2 separate regions of the Homo sapiens genome follow, and region 1 is linked to region 2. Evidence: promoter capture Hi-C in 16 types of primary human blood cells and fetal thymus (Javierre and others, 2016). All regions are on one chromosome and are shown on one strand. Each heading gives the region's core, a stretch centred on a gene start or on the middle of the fragment in contact. The rest is flanking DNA. Distances are from core to core; before and after follow the strand shown. Region 1 holds the start of PRKRA (protein activator of interferon induced protein kinase EIF2AK2). Region 2 holds the start of ZC3H15 (zinc finger CCCH-type containing 15).

The links. The method cuts DNA at HindIII sites, captures the fragments that hold promoters and counts their contacts. A CHiCAGO score of 5 or more calls a contact.
Region 1: the fragment with the promoter of PRKRA here is called in contact with the fragment with the promoter of ZC3H15 in region 2 in 2 of 17 cell types (total B cells and activated CD4 T cells); the score reaches 8.3 in total B cells.

Annotation. Positions count from the first base shown.
Region 1 is chr2:178,446,451-178,452,608 of GRCh38, forward strand. It overlaps PRKRA (protein activator of interferon induced protein kinase EIF2AK2), which reads right to left and starts at 4,725. Exons shown (of 8, transcript NM_003690.5): 1 at 4,516-4,725; 2 at 3,792-3,961; 3 at 1,055-1,136. The coding sequence starts at 4,580. PJVK (pejvakin) reads left to right here and starts at 4,928. Exons shown (of 7, transcript NM_001042702.5): 1 at 4,928-5,319. RefSeq lists an enhancer at 3,881-4,455 and a silencer at 4,218-4,997. The HindIII fragment of the contact is 1,572 bases long and covers 3,586-5,157 here.
Region 2 is chr2:186,482,253-186,488,329 of GRCh38, forward strand. It overlaps ZC3H15 (zinc finger CCCH-type containing 15), which reads left to right and starts at 4,008. Exons shown (of 10, transcript NM_018471.3): 1 at 4,008-4,205. The coding sequence starts at 4,131. LOC105373785 (a long non-coding RNA gene) reads right to left here and starts at 3,748. Exons shown (of 2, transcript XR_001739147.3): 1 at 3,548-3,748. RefSeq lists an enhancer at 3,638-4,117. The HindIII fragment of the contact is 12,604 bases long and covers 1-6,077 here.

The sequences.
Region 1 (6,158 bases), core at 3,475-5,974, 8.0 Mb before region 2:
AATGATTTACAAAAAGAGAGGAATACTACATGAGAACCTAACTACACCCCTAATCCAAAAGCCTTTCTATGACTAGGGAACAAAAAACCCATCCCAAATTCCCTGGGTCTCTACTGTCAACTATAAGCTGATTACACAGATCGTACTTCAGGCATATGTAAGTGTATGCACAAGAAGAACTTGAAAGCATGCCAAGCTCCAGAGTGCACCCAGTGGACACTACTTTAATATGTGAGATGCTCCAGGACCAATATTCTATCTAGAAACACCTAAAGTAGTAAAAAATCTATCCCAGCACTTTGGGAGGCCGAGGCTGGCGGATCACGAGGTCAGGAGATCGAGACCATCCCGGCTAAAACGGTGAAACCCCGTCTCTACTAAAAATACAAAAAATTAGCTGGGCGTAGTGGCGGGCGCCTGTAGTCCCAGCTACTTGGGAGGCTGAGGCAGGAGAATGGCGTGAACCCGGGAGGCGGAGCTTGCAGTGAGCCGAGATCCCGCCACTGCACTCCAGACTGGGCGACAGAGCGAGACTCCGTCTCAAAAAAAAAAAAAAAAAAAAAAAAATCTTACTTTAGAAAGATATGTCAAGAATTAATATCCCACTTAACATTCTCTTCTTTTGGTATACATTATATAATAAAAGAAAACCTCTGCCTGCTTCTTCAAAATTAGAATTCCCAAAAGAGTACTTTTAGTGGATCTTTCTCCATCTCACACTTTGTTTTCTTCAATGTAGAAATAATCAAAGTCTAAATACAAAATGTTAATATTAATATTTGCAAGAAGCACTGATTTTCTACTGTTGTATCCCATTAAAAAAAAAAAAACAGTAAAGCCTAGTTCATGAGCACCTTCATTTAATAGCTAATTGCTGGATTTGATTGGATAAAGTTTTCTTTAATGGATGATAAGTTTTCATAAGGAAATAGAATTTGAGAGGTAGGATGCTAACAACTGTTCACTTTGTTGCTTTTGTAAGCATGTTCAAATTTTTAATCTTACCTCAGCCATGATATTTTTGAGCTGCTGAATACAAAGAAATTTAGCTCACCAAATACTTGCATTGGCTTTCAAAATGTTTATGGCAGCCTCTGCAGCTCTATGTTTCGCCAGCTTCTTACTTGTACCTTCACCTGAATTAAGATTTAAAAAAAGAAGTCTTTATCTCCCACAAAAATGTGCAGCTTACAAAGATGTTTTCAATACACAAAACAAAGTCACTATAGATTTTACATACACATACTAGGTAATAAAAATATGTACGTTATATACTGTACATAAAAATATGTACATGTTATATACTACATGGTTATATACTGTAATAAAATATTCACCATGTGAAAAAATTTTAAAAAATAACTTTTTAAAGTTCTATATAATTCTATGCATACCTGCATAAAAATCCTTATTTCTACATTATATATGTTTATTATATAACATGGTAATAAAGTAGACCGTGTCACACCTCTGAAGAAATGCAGATTAGTATTTTACTCTTCCTTTATTCCTGGAGGGGAAATTCTTCTGCAGCAAGAAGTTTCTTTTAAAGGAACCATTTACAGCAGAATTGTTTGATAGCAAAATGTGCATAATTTTATTCTGACAGCCTGTCCTATAACGTATCAAACTGCTTTGCTAGGCTGAGCAGTCATGATTATGTGTTGGGTACAACAGGAAAGAGTTTTATGGAATAAGGTGACAGCTTGTTATGTATCTTCTGGACGGTCTGTATCTTCTGCATGGGTAGCTAAGTTGGGACTGGGGATAAGACTGATGTCTAATTTCAGTAAGCAATCACAATGGCAAATGATAAATTCCATCTTTTTCCTTTTAAGTTCAAACTCCCATACCCTCATGGAATAAGTTTCAAGTGTGGCCTTCAAGTGTGGCCCTCAAGTGTAAGAAGACACAGAAACCATATATTTATCTGCTAACACAGGTATTAGGGATATAGCATACAGGGTCCCTGCCCTCAAGAGCCAACAGAGTAGTGTGGGATTTTTGTCTGTTAATAGGCACCTGAAGTATGGAATGGGATATGTTACAACAAGCCTAAGTGCAGGCTGTAGCGGAGGTTGCAGTGAGCCAAGATCATGCCACTGCACTCTAGCCTGGGTGACAGAGTGAGACCCTGTCTCAAAAAAAAAAGAATGAACACTGGTTGTAATGTGACAAAAGGACATCACAAGACTAGAAGGTAAACGTGTAGCTACAAGACTGCAGCTACAATCCAAGTGAGAGATGATGGTGGCCTAGGCAGTAGCAATGGCCAGAAGAGAGAAGCCGACAGATTCAATGGATAGTTAGTGGATTATTAAACGCCAATGGATAGAGTTTAATAACAGACTGGACAAGAGGGAGAAAGACGGGAAGTAGTTAGGAAGACAAAAGCCTACATTTCTACTGAACTAGGTGATTGTGGAGCCTTTACATAGAAAGGGAATGCAAGAAGAATGGGTTTGAGGGAAAAGATGGATTCAGTTTGGGACAATGAGAGGCTTGAGGGGCCTCTGTGTCATCCAGGCAAAGATGCTCAGCAAGCACAGACTGATACACTATTCTGTAACTGGGCTTGGGATGTAGACAGACATTTCAGAATATTAGTCTTTAGACAGTATCAGAAGCCATGGAGGCAGATAAGCTTGCACAGGAAGCCATGGTAGTGTGAGAAGAGGGCGTAGGCAGAACGGTTGCCATAGGTTGTTAATTTGGGGTCTAAAACACATTGAGAGGGAAAAACCCTCCCTTTTCTTGAATTCTTCCTATCTAGAAATAGACTAGCTAAAGTAAGTAATGCAGTGTTGACTCTATGGTTCCCATGGGGACCCTTCCGGCCAGCACCTACAATCTAACTGCCTCACACAAAAAGTTTTAAACTTTTCTTAAAGTGGCATCAATTAAAATAAAAGACTCCAAACTTCCAGGGACACAAACAAATGCTGTCTTCAGATTTTCCAGATGGTAGAACTTGAGCCTTCCTACTAAATTTTTTTCTTGGCATTCTTCCAAATTAAATTTAGCATCCAATGTTTTCTGTGTTTGCAATTAAATAGATACATAAGAAAAATAATGTCCACATTTACAAATGAGCAACTTTAGTTATCATTTGCTCAAGCTCACAGACCAAAAGAAAGCATGAACTTTAAAATTTCATTGCTTTGTGACTTCATTGCTATACGCATGTTACTTATAATCTCTCTGAACCTGTTTCTTCTTGTTTAAAAAGTGGATAATATACAAAATATCTGTTCAGTTTCAAAAACTAGAAGTTATTATGTAATATATGAGGACCTTCTCCCCTTCCTCATTTTGTTTGGATACAGAATCAAAAGTAGCACAATGGACCTAAAGTGCCAAATGAGTCCATACAGAGAGGAGAGACGCTCAGAAAATTCTGGGGTCATGCCTCCTGGCATCCGCTATAATCTATGAAACTTCACAGTACCTACTGACCCAGCTATGACTGCTCCAAGAACCTTTCCTGCTTCCCTCTAATTCTAAGAAGAACCCTAGGAGGATCCTAGGGTATGAGAAGAGCCATGCAGGATCCAGCCATCCGGCTGGGTAACTTTTTAGTTTCTAAGCTTCCTTGGTATGTGGGGAAGAGAAAATTAGGAAGAGAATCAGATGCAGCTGAAAAGCCCTAACGACCTGAGATGAGAGGTCTCAGTTTCAGAGCCTGTTCCTCACAGCTGTCTGGCAAAAAGAGAACTTTTCCGAACTGAAAAGCAACACCAAGTATTGACTGCCAACCCACTCGGTCATCCAGGTTAACTGTGTATACAGACCTGTGCAGGTTATGTCACCAACGGTTACTCTGAAGGTGAAAGTGGGCACGTGTATTTGCACATCAGATCTTTCACATTCATAAACTGGGATGTTCTTGGTCTTCATGCCGTATTCGTGTAATACCTGAATCGGTGTTTTCCCTGGCTTAGCTGTTATCATCTTCCCCAAACTGCAAAAACCACAAAAAGGTGTGCTTTGCATGCCAAATTGGAGATTGAAGCAGAAGCGTAGAGGCCAGTTTTAACCGCCACCGACGGTGACGAGGGAGGCGCCGAGTTCCCCGGAGGCCAGGGCCAGAGCTGGCGAGGCTGGGGCGCACCTGTCTTCCGGCCCCGCTGCGGCAGTCACTCCGCAGGAGCAGGCGGGGTGAGCGAGGTCTTTAGAGAGAGCACTTGAATGCGGGTAGGAGAGATTCTCAACAGAACAGGGCTGGCAGCAGCGCCGCAGCCTCTCAGGGAAAACCTGACGATCCCTTCCCGGGCGCGCCGACCGAGCGTCACCTCCGCCCGCCCCGCGCGCCGCCAGGGACCACGAGAGGGGCGGGGCCCGGCCGCAGACCCCAACCCTCGCCGCCGAGAGGGCGGGGCCGAGCACCCACAGCCGCGGAGGCGTGGGCGCCGGGCACGGCTTTACCCAGAATGCCTCTGGAGGGCCGGCTCCCCGCGCCCCGGCCCTGCCGCCCAACGCTCCCGGCCCTGGGGCCCTGACTGCCCGCACGCTGACCTGAAGGTCCCACTGTCCTCGCGCTCCAGCGGCGGGGCCTCGGCGCGGTGCCTGCTCTGGGACATGGCGAGAAGGGACGGCTCAGCGGCTGGAGGAAGAGCGGTGCGGAGCGACGTGCTCGCTCCCCGGGTCGCTGGTCCCCGGGAGGAGCTCCAGCGCCGCCACCTCCTCCGACTCCCCCGCCTCCTGCTTGCGTTGCTCCAGCGAGGGGGCAGGCAGGGTGGGGGCGGAGCCTTGGTGCCGTAGCTCCGGCTACGCCCCCTCGCTGCTCCTCTGCGGGCCTCCGTCCCGGCCCAACTCCGCCCCTGTCCCTTCCAGGGTCCGCCCCCTTCCCGCCCGGCTCCGCCCCGCTCCCGCGTGGGCACAGGCATTGGGCTCCCGGGGGTTCTCCGCGCCCGCCCCTGCCGGCCCTGACCAGCCTGTAGTAACTGGCCCCTAGGCCGCAGTTCTTTGTCCTTAGCAGGAGGCCGTTTCTTGCCGGGAGAGAGGGATTAGAGGGATTGTCCGGCGTGGGTCTAGGGTCGTTGAGGCCTAAAGTTAAGCCTTTGTGGGGAGGACGGATTGGGGGCTGGGTCACTTTAAGAAAAAGATTCTAAAATTACGAAGGCAGAATTCCAGGGAGTCTCCCGGGCCTGGTCCTGAAGCTTGAGACCCCGGATATATACGCTCCAGGGGGCTGCGGTGCGCTCTTCGGGTCCCCGAGCCCTGTGTTTAGGAACACGCGGGGACGTCCAAACACCCGCTCCTCTCCCGCCGGGCGGGCTCCTTTGTCTTCTGGGCTTTCGTCGCGAGATGGAACGCTGGGTCAGTGCATCCCAGCAAAACACGTTAGGAGTAAACGAAGGCCTTTCCGGGGACCTGGGTAGTCGGTTGTAATGGCGTTTGCCTGGGATGCAGCACCTTTGGTGGGCCATTAGATGACGTGTCGCTTCTCCAGGGGCTTGCTAGGCACTAGCAGAAATGCTCCCCTGTGCTTACTCGGTGTTATGGAAGATTGCTTGCACAATGCTATTCGTACGAAAGGATATTATTAAAAGTGATTTATGGGCGGGCGCGGTGGCTCACGCCTGTAATCCCAGCACTTTAGGAGGCCGAGGCTGGCGGATCGCCTGAAGTAAGCAGTTCGAGACCAGCCTGGCCAACATGGTGAAACCCTGTCTCTACTAAAAATACAAAAATTAGCCGGGCGTGGTGGCATGCGCCTGTAATCCCAGCTACTCGGGAGGCTAAAGCAGGAGAATCGCTTGAACCCGGGAGGCAAATGTTGCAGTGAGCCGAGATCGCGCCACTGCACTCCAGCCTGGGCGACAGAGTCAGACTCCCTCTCAAAAAAAAAAAAAAAAAAAAAAGCGATTTGTTGTTTTGTTAGCATGTAAGCCCTGGATGCTTGAAACAAGTGAAAGATGTTCAGAATCTAATCAAATTATATCATCTGATGCTTTAATTAGAGCCTATTCTCTCTTCCTCTCCGTCTATATATGTATGTATATAGATTACTATCCATCACTGTTTTAATGGATATCTTATTGGAAGGGCTACATAGTCAGTATTTCACAATATATGAACTCCGCATAACACCTATGGCAAAACATTTCAGCACTCAGGTAAAATTCATTTTTTGCCACAAAATTACTTAAAAACAG
Region 2 (6,077 bases), core at 2,758-5,257:
AATATCATGTCTCAGTTTACAAACTTACCGAGAAGAAAAAAAAATTCCTTACAGGGTTTTGATTTTGTCTTCTAAGACTATATAAATGTATGAAAAATGTTTACGCTTATTACAAGAAAATTAACTATTGTAGCTATGGAATAATCATCAATGCAAATTAAAACCTGTATATATGTATATGGGAGGTCTTCAAAGAAGTTATGAAATAGGGTGACACTATCAAATTCATACATTTGAAAATTTACTTTTGGAGTAATGCATTGTGAAGAAATTAGATCAAGAGAAACAGTTGCAATAGTCCAAGTAAAAATGTGGCCCTGAAATAGGATAGTAAAGTAGGAAGGAAATAATTTGAAAGAGGTTCCTTAAGATATAGAATCACTATGAATTGACTTGACTGGATTTGGAGGTTGAAAAAAGAATCAAAGATGACTCACCAAAGTTTCTAGTTATGATACCTAGATGGAAGGTAGATAGGTTTTTTTTTGGGAGGGGGGAGGTATACACATAAGACTATGAAAAGTTCGAAGGCACATAAGAGTAGAGAGGGAATATGAAGGTGGGGAATAGGAAAAGCTGGCCTAAAATGAGGAGTAAGAACTGAAATAACAGAAGATAAAAAGCAGATGTTATAGGCTGAGGAAGATGTGGAATCCCTTACACTCCCTTTAGAAAGACATAAGAAGCCATTAAAAAACTATTACTAGGGAAATGACATGGTTGATTTAAATCATTGGAAATGATTTAAGTGTCAACGAGGCAAAAAATATTTGGAAATCGTACATCTTGGTTTCTTGACAAATGCCATAATAACTATTATCATAATGGTACCAAGAAATATTTCAAATAGAAACAGAGAATTCACCCACTTAAGTCACCTACTTTAAGAAAATTTTACATCAGTGTAGGCTGGAGTGAAAGTTTACAGTATTGAAATTCAAACTGACAAGGTAAAAGACATTTTATATGCTTTACTGAAACACTAGCAAATCTTTTGTAATATCTTAATTCAGAGGGAAAAAAGTCTTAAAGGAGACTGACTATATGTCAGAATTTTGAAGCATTCACTATTTAAATCAAAATACTTCCTAATATGTACTGCCTTAACCCATAAAACAGATCAGCAATTTATATGGCCAAATGAGTCCTATCTTTATGACAAAAATTTACTTAGATAAACTAGTAGTCTTGTCTCTGCCCACCACCCCATAGCACAGTTTGGTCTATTATCAATCAGAGTCTGTCTTAGTTTACTAGGGCTGCAATAACAAAGTACCACAGACTGGGTGGCTTAAAAAACAGAAATTTATTTTCTCATAGTTTTGGGTGCTAGTAGGCTGAGATCAAGGTGTCAGCATGTTTGGTTTCTTCCAAGGCTTCTCTCTTGGCTTGCAGATGGCCACCTTCTAGCTATGTCTTCAAATATGTTTATGGAAATATTGTTCACAGAATCTATAGGAAGCCTGGAAAATCAGGCTTGGGAAATAAAAGAAGCAAGAAATAATAGCAAAGAATGAAGTAAGGACTTGTATGGATCTTGCCACACTGGCCTGCCGCCACTGGACTGGTAATACCATACATGCACTCTAATGCCCTGAAAAATTCCTACACTTTGAGTCTTTGTCTTGTTTTCTTGAGATTAAAAGCCTGAGACATAGGGCTTCCTTCCTATACAGAAGGACATTAGAATGCTGGATAGCAAACAATAATTTCTATTCAGTACAAAATCTACTGCCTTAATCTATTACATCTGATACATTCCAATAAATGTAAAGTTATCCAAATGGCTATATCCAAGGCAGTAAATTCACAGCCTGTCTACCAAATCGAAGCAGTCAGGTTTGACAGTTTTTCTTTTAGTTCTTTTACGGTGGGCATTTACCTCAGGTTTAACACTGTTCCCACAACTTCCTAATGTATTTCACTCATCCTGACGCTCAAGTTTATAGCCCTGCTTTCTTGGGTATATGAATTGTAACCCTTGGACTATGCCTTCTAAGCACTGTTTTGTGAAAGTTTCGTTTGAATTGTAAGGTCAATAAAAATAGCAGTAGAAGACATAAAAGTCCCAGCCCTGCTACCATTTGCTATTTGAGACCAGGAAAAACCATGTACCTTATTTCAAAAAGTAGTGAATTCAATGAGTTGGACTTCCTTATTTCTAAAATGTATGAAGAAATAGTGTACGAGGGAGAGTGCTATAAGAGCATGTACTATATTCAGAAATGTGTATTTTCCACTTGAGGCAAGAAAGGATCTTTGTTCTCTACCTGGGCTACACTTCAGAGGAAAAAACCGAAAGCAAAGGTCAGGAGACAGAAGAAGTTATGAACCATGAAACTGGAGCCATTATCATAACATTATGAGACTCTAGATTCTTTGTAACTTCCCCATATTTGTTACTTATAATTCATTTGCCTCATAATAATAATCAGTAAAATTACTCAAAATCAAAGGCCCAAAGGGCATCTTTGGGGCACTAAAAGTAGGAAGTTAAGACAACTACATTCCATATGCAAACAAAGTCTCAAAGGAGACGATCCCCAAATAATCAAATGGATAATAATACTGAGTAAAGAGGGGGCTGGCTGCATCCCTCCATCCTCTGACAAGAACTATGACAATTACAAAAAATAAAGATGAAAATATGTAAAAGGGGGGGAGCCCATTAACCTGCCAATATGAGCCCAAATGAAAAAAAGTGTGTCAACATACACCTGCCATTCTCGACACAATTCTTTTTAGTAGCTATCACATTTCTTCTACACACACACATACACACACAAAACATACTTGGGGTTCCTTGACATTATCTTACGTAGAAAATTACTAAGCAAATAATCAATTTGACTAAGTAGGGGGGCTTATCGTTTTCTCCCTATTCAAATTAATGAAAAAGATAAAAAAACTTTTATCTATAAAGATGATTCTTGGTTCCACAATGCTTCTTAACAGAAATAGTTTAAACAATAATCATTTTAAAAAATAACAGCTAAGCATTGTACATTTTTAAAAAATAGTATTTTCGTTTGTACAAATATCAATGGGTCCCATTCATCATTCAAGTACCTTTTCAAACAGGATCTAAGTTTGTAATGTTAGGTAATAGGCATATAGGCTGAAGCCGGACTGCCAAGATTACAATTGCTGGCTCTGTCCTTAATATAACTTTGGGCATCTTTCTTCCTTTCTCTGCTTCATCTATAAAACGAAAACAGTAACAACTCCCACCTAAGTGTCGTTGTGATAACTAAATGAAATAGTGTGTGTAATGTGCCAAGGAATTTCTGGAGCTACCAAGCACTTAAACTAAGTTCTAACTAAGTTTGGTTACTTTCACGTTATAAAGGAATTTTTAGGAATCACCTAGGCACTCTCCTAAAGTCTCAAAATAACTTAATACAGTACTTCTAAGGAGTTCAAGTGCCTCCTTATCTGGGACGCCATCTCAGATGCTCTTCAAATGAAAGGGACCCTGCAAATGAAAGTTAACTTTTTCCATTTTTTAAATAATCCTTCGCAGGAATCTGAAGCACGCGACACTCACGGGCCATTCAGCTCCGCCTCTCCAGGGAACAAGAAGGTTAACTGAGTAACGTGGTCACGGAGCAACCCCGAGTCGCTGCGGCTGCTTAGTAGTCACTCAGGATGGGGATGGTACAGGGGACCATTAACTGGCCCGGCAGGAAAAGTTTCCCGGTGAGGTGACGATGGACAAGAGTCGCCCCATCGTAAGCGAAAGTGGACTGAGAGGAAGCACAAACGCATGGACTCAACCAGCTCGCCCAGATTCACCCTCAGGCCTTTTGCCATCTGAAAAGGGCCTATCGGATGCGCGACATCACGAGTGACGCGTAGTCATTTTCCCACGTCCCGTCCCTGCCCCCTCCTAGTGGGACGCAGTGGGCGCGCACGCGCAGCTCCGCTTCCGGGAGCCGCTCCTCGCTACCCACTATGCTCTGCGACATCGACCTGTCGCAAAGGCCGCGTTTGCGGGGCCAATGAGCGACTCGCTTTCCGTGCGGTGCGGCGAGTGAGGCCCCGGTCTTCCTCCTCGTCCTGCCGCAGGGCCAGAACCCCTGACGGTATTCAGCTGCGCGTAAGTCTGGCCGGTGCCATCTGTCTCCGCAATGCCCCCCAAGAAACAGGCTCAGGCCGGGGGCAGCAAAAAGGCGGAGCAAAAAAAGAAGGAGAAGATTATCGAAGTGAGTACCCACCCCTCCCCCACTCACGCCGCGAGCCCTCCGGAAAGCCACTTCCCCGCTCCGGGCTTCCCTGGGAGCCGGCTCGCTTCCTCGGGCCACGTGTTCCTCCCTTAGGCCTGTGTGGCCCACTGCCCCTTCTCCAGCCCCTGATGACGCTAGCTCTCTCATTACTATAGTGACGCTGCTGGCGCCCCCGCACCTGGGCTTTGCCTCTCCGCCCACACGCCCGTGTTCACCCACCCATGCACCCGGGTGCGAAATGACCCCTCGGGACTGGCACAGGGTTTTATCCTTCGCTAGTCCTCTCAGAATTGAGGAGATTTTCCAAGGTTATGTGTGAAGAAATACGCTGAACGGTCTCGGGCCAGCGTCTTTCTGGAAGACCGACTCATGACGAGTCTTTGTGTTCGTTATTTCTTTACCCGTCACCCAGGGATGGTACTGTTAGTTCTTTTGAACCAACAAATTACGACTTGGTGGCTTTTTCGATCCACCTCTGAAATGTTTAAAGTCCCATAAAGAATGGAAGGACTTTCCGTCACAACCCAGGGTCTTGAACGCAGAGCTTGGTACTTACATTCTGAAGTGGATTAAATAGGATAACGCCTTAAAAGAGATTAGGTTTCAGTGTCACTAATTGTGTGAAGTCCCGTAACCCAGTTTGAGATATATGTGTGTGTGTGCGCGTGTATATATGTATACATCTATGTGTGTGTATATGTGTATATATGTGTGTGTATATATATTCGTTTAACACATTGAGCCTGTAGCCCTTTAATGGCCAAGGAACGCTATTGACGTTCTTACATGTTGTGCACTTGTTTTCCAACAACTGAATTGAGTTTCCTTAAAAGATGAACCATATTTGACATTACGTAAACATACCATACAGACCCCAACGAGGTATTTCTTCCCTCGATTTCTGCTATTAATCCTCCTCATAATTAAATAGGACCTCTTGTACTTTGGATATAATTAGAAAAAGCCATGACCATTTTACCGCATAAGGTGTAAAGTCTGCTCATTGGATTTAAGAAAATGCTTAAGAATTTTGCTATACTTGGCCAGGTTCCAACTTTGGAGGAGAACTGGTATTCTTATTGCCAATTTGTACAGTTTAAAACTGTCATGAAGTACTATAGCCAGACACTTAAAAACAAAATATTACCTTCACATCTGTGTTTTCTATTACCTTATTTGAACAATCTGGATTCGTGGCACTTAGGTAAATTTCAGGGGTTGCTGATCGGATGGCATTCACTTTTATGAAAACCAAGGACATTTTAGGGATGTCGTTTTCCTCGAGATTGGACCCTGATACGAAGTAAAACTCCCATTGAAATTAAATGTTATGTAATAATTTAGACAATTTAAATTATACTTCATGCATTGTAGAGCTTTCTCTATATCTAATTGTTTTATTTTTAATTAGTAGGACTAGTATTCTTATTTTAAGGAATTATGTGTGAAAGTTGTTTATAGTATCCATCAACTTTTAAAATGATGCATATGTTATGATTCTAGTCATCTTGTGACGAAATTATTTTTTAGCTAAAGAGAAAGCAATTTTAGTTTCAATAATGAAGGTATCTCCAAAGAAAAATGCAAAATAAGACAACTGCACTTTTTAACTAAAAATATTAACAACAACAAAGTGGTGAAATTAAGCCCGATTTTGTGTTTTCTACATTTAATATATATTATTTTTTTAATTTATTTTTTGTTGAGGTATAACTTATGTAAAATAAAATGTACAGGTTCTAGATGTATAGTTCTATGTGTTTTGAGGAATTTATTCACCCAGGTAGCTGCCACCCTAATTAAGACTTGAAACATTTCTATCACCCCACTAAATTTGTTTTGTGCCTCTTT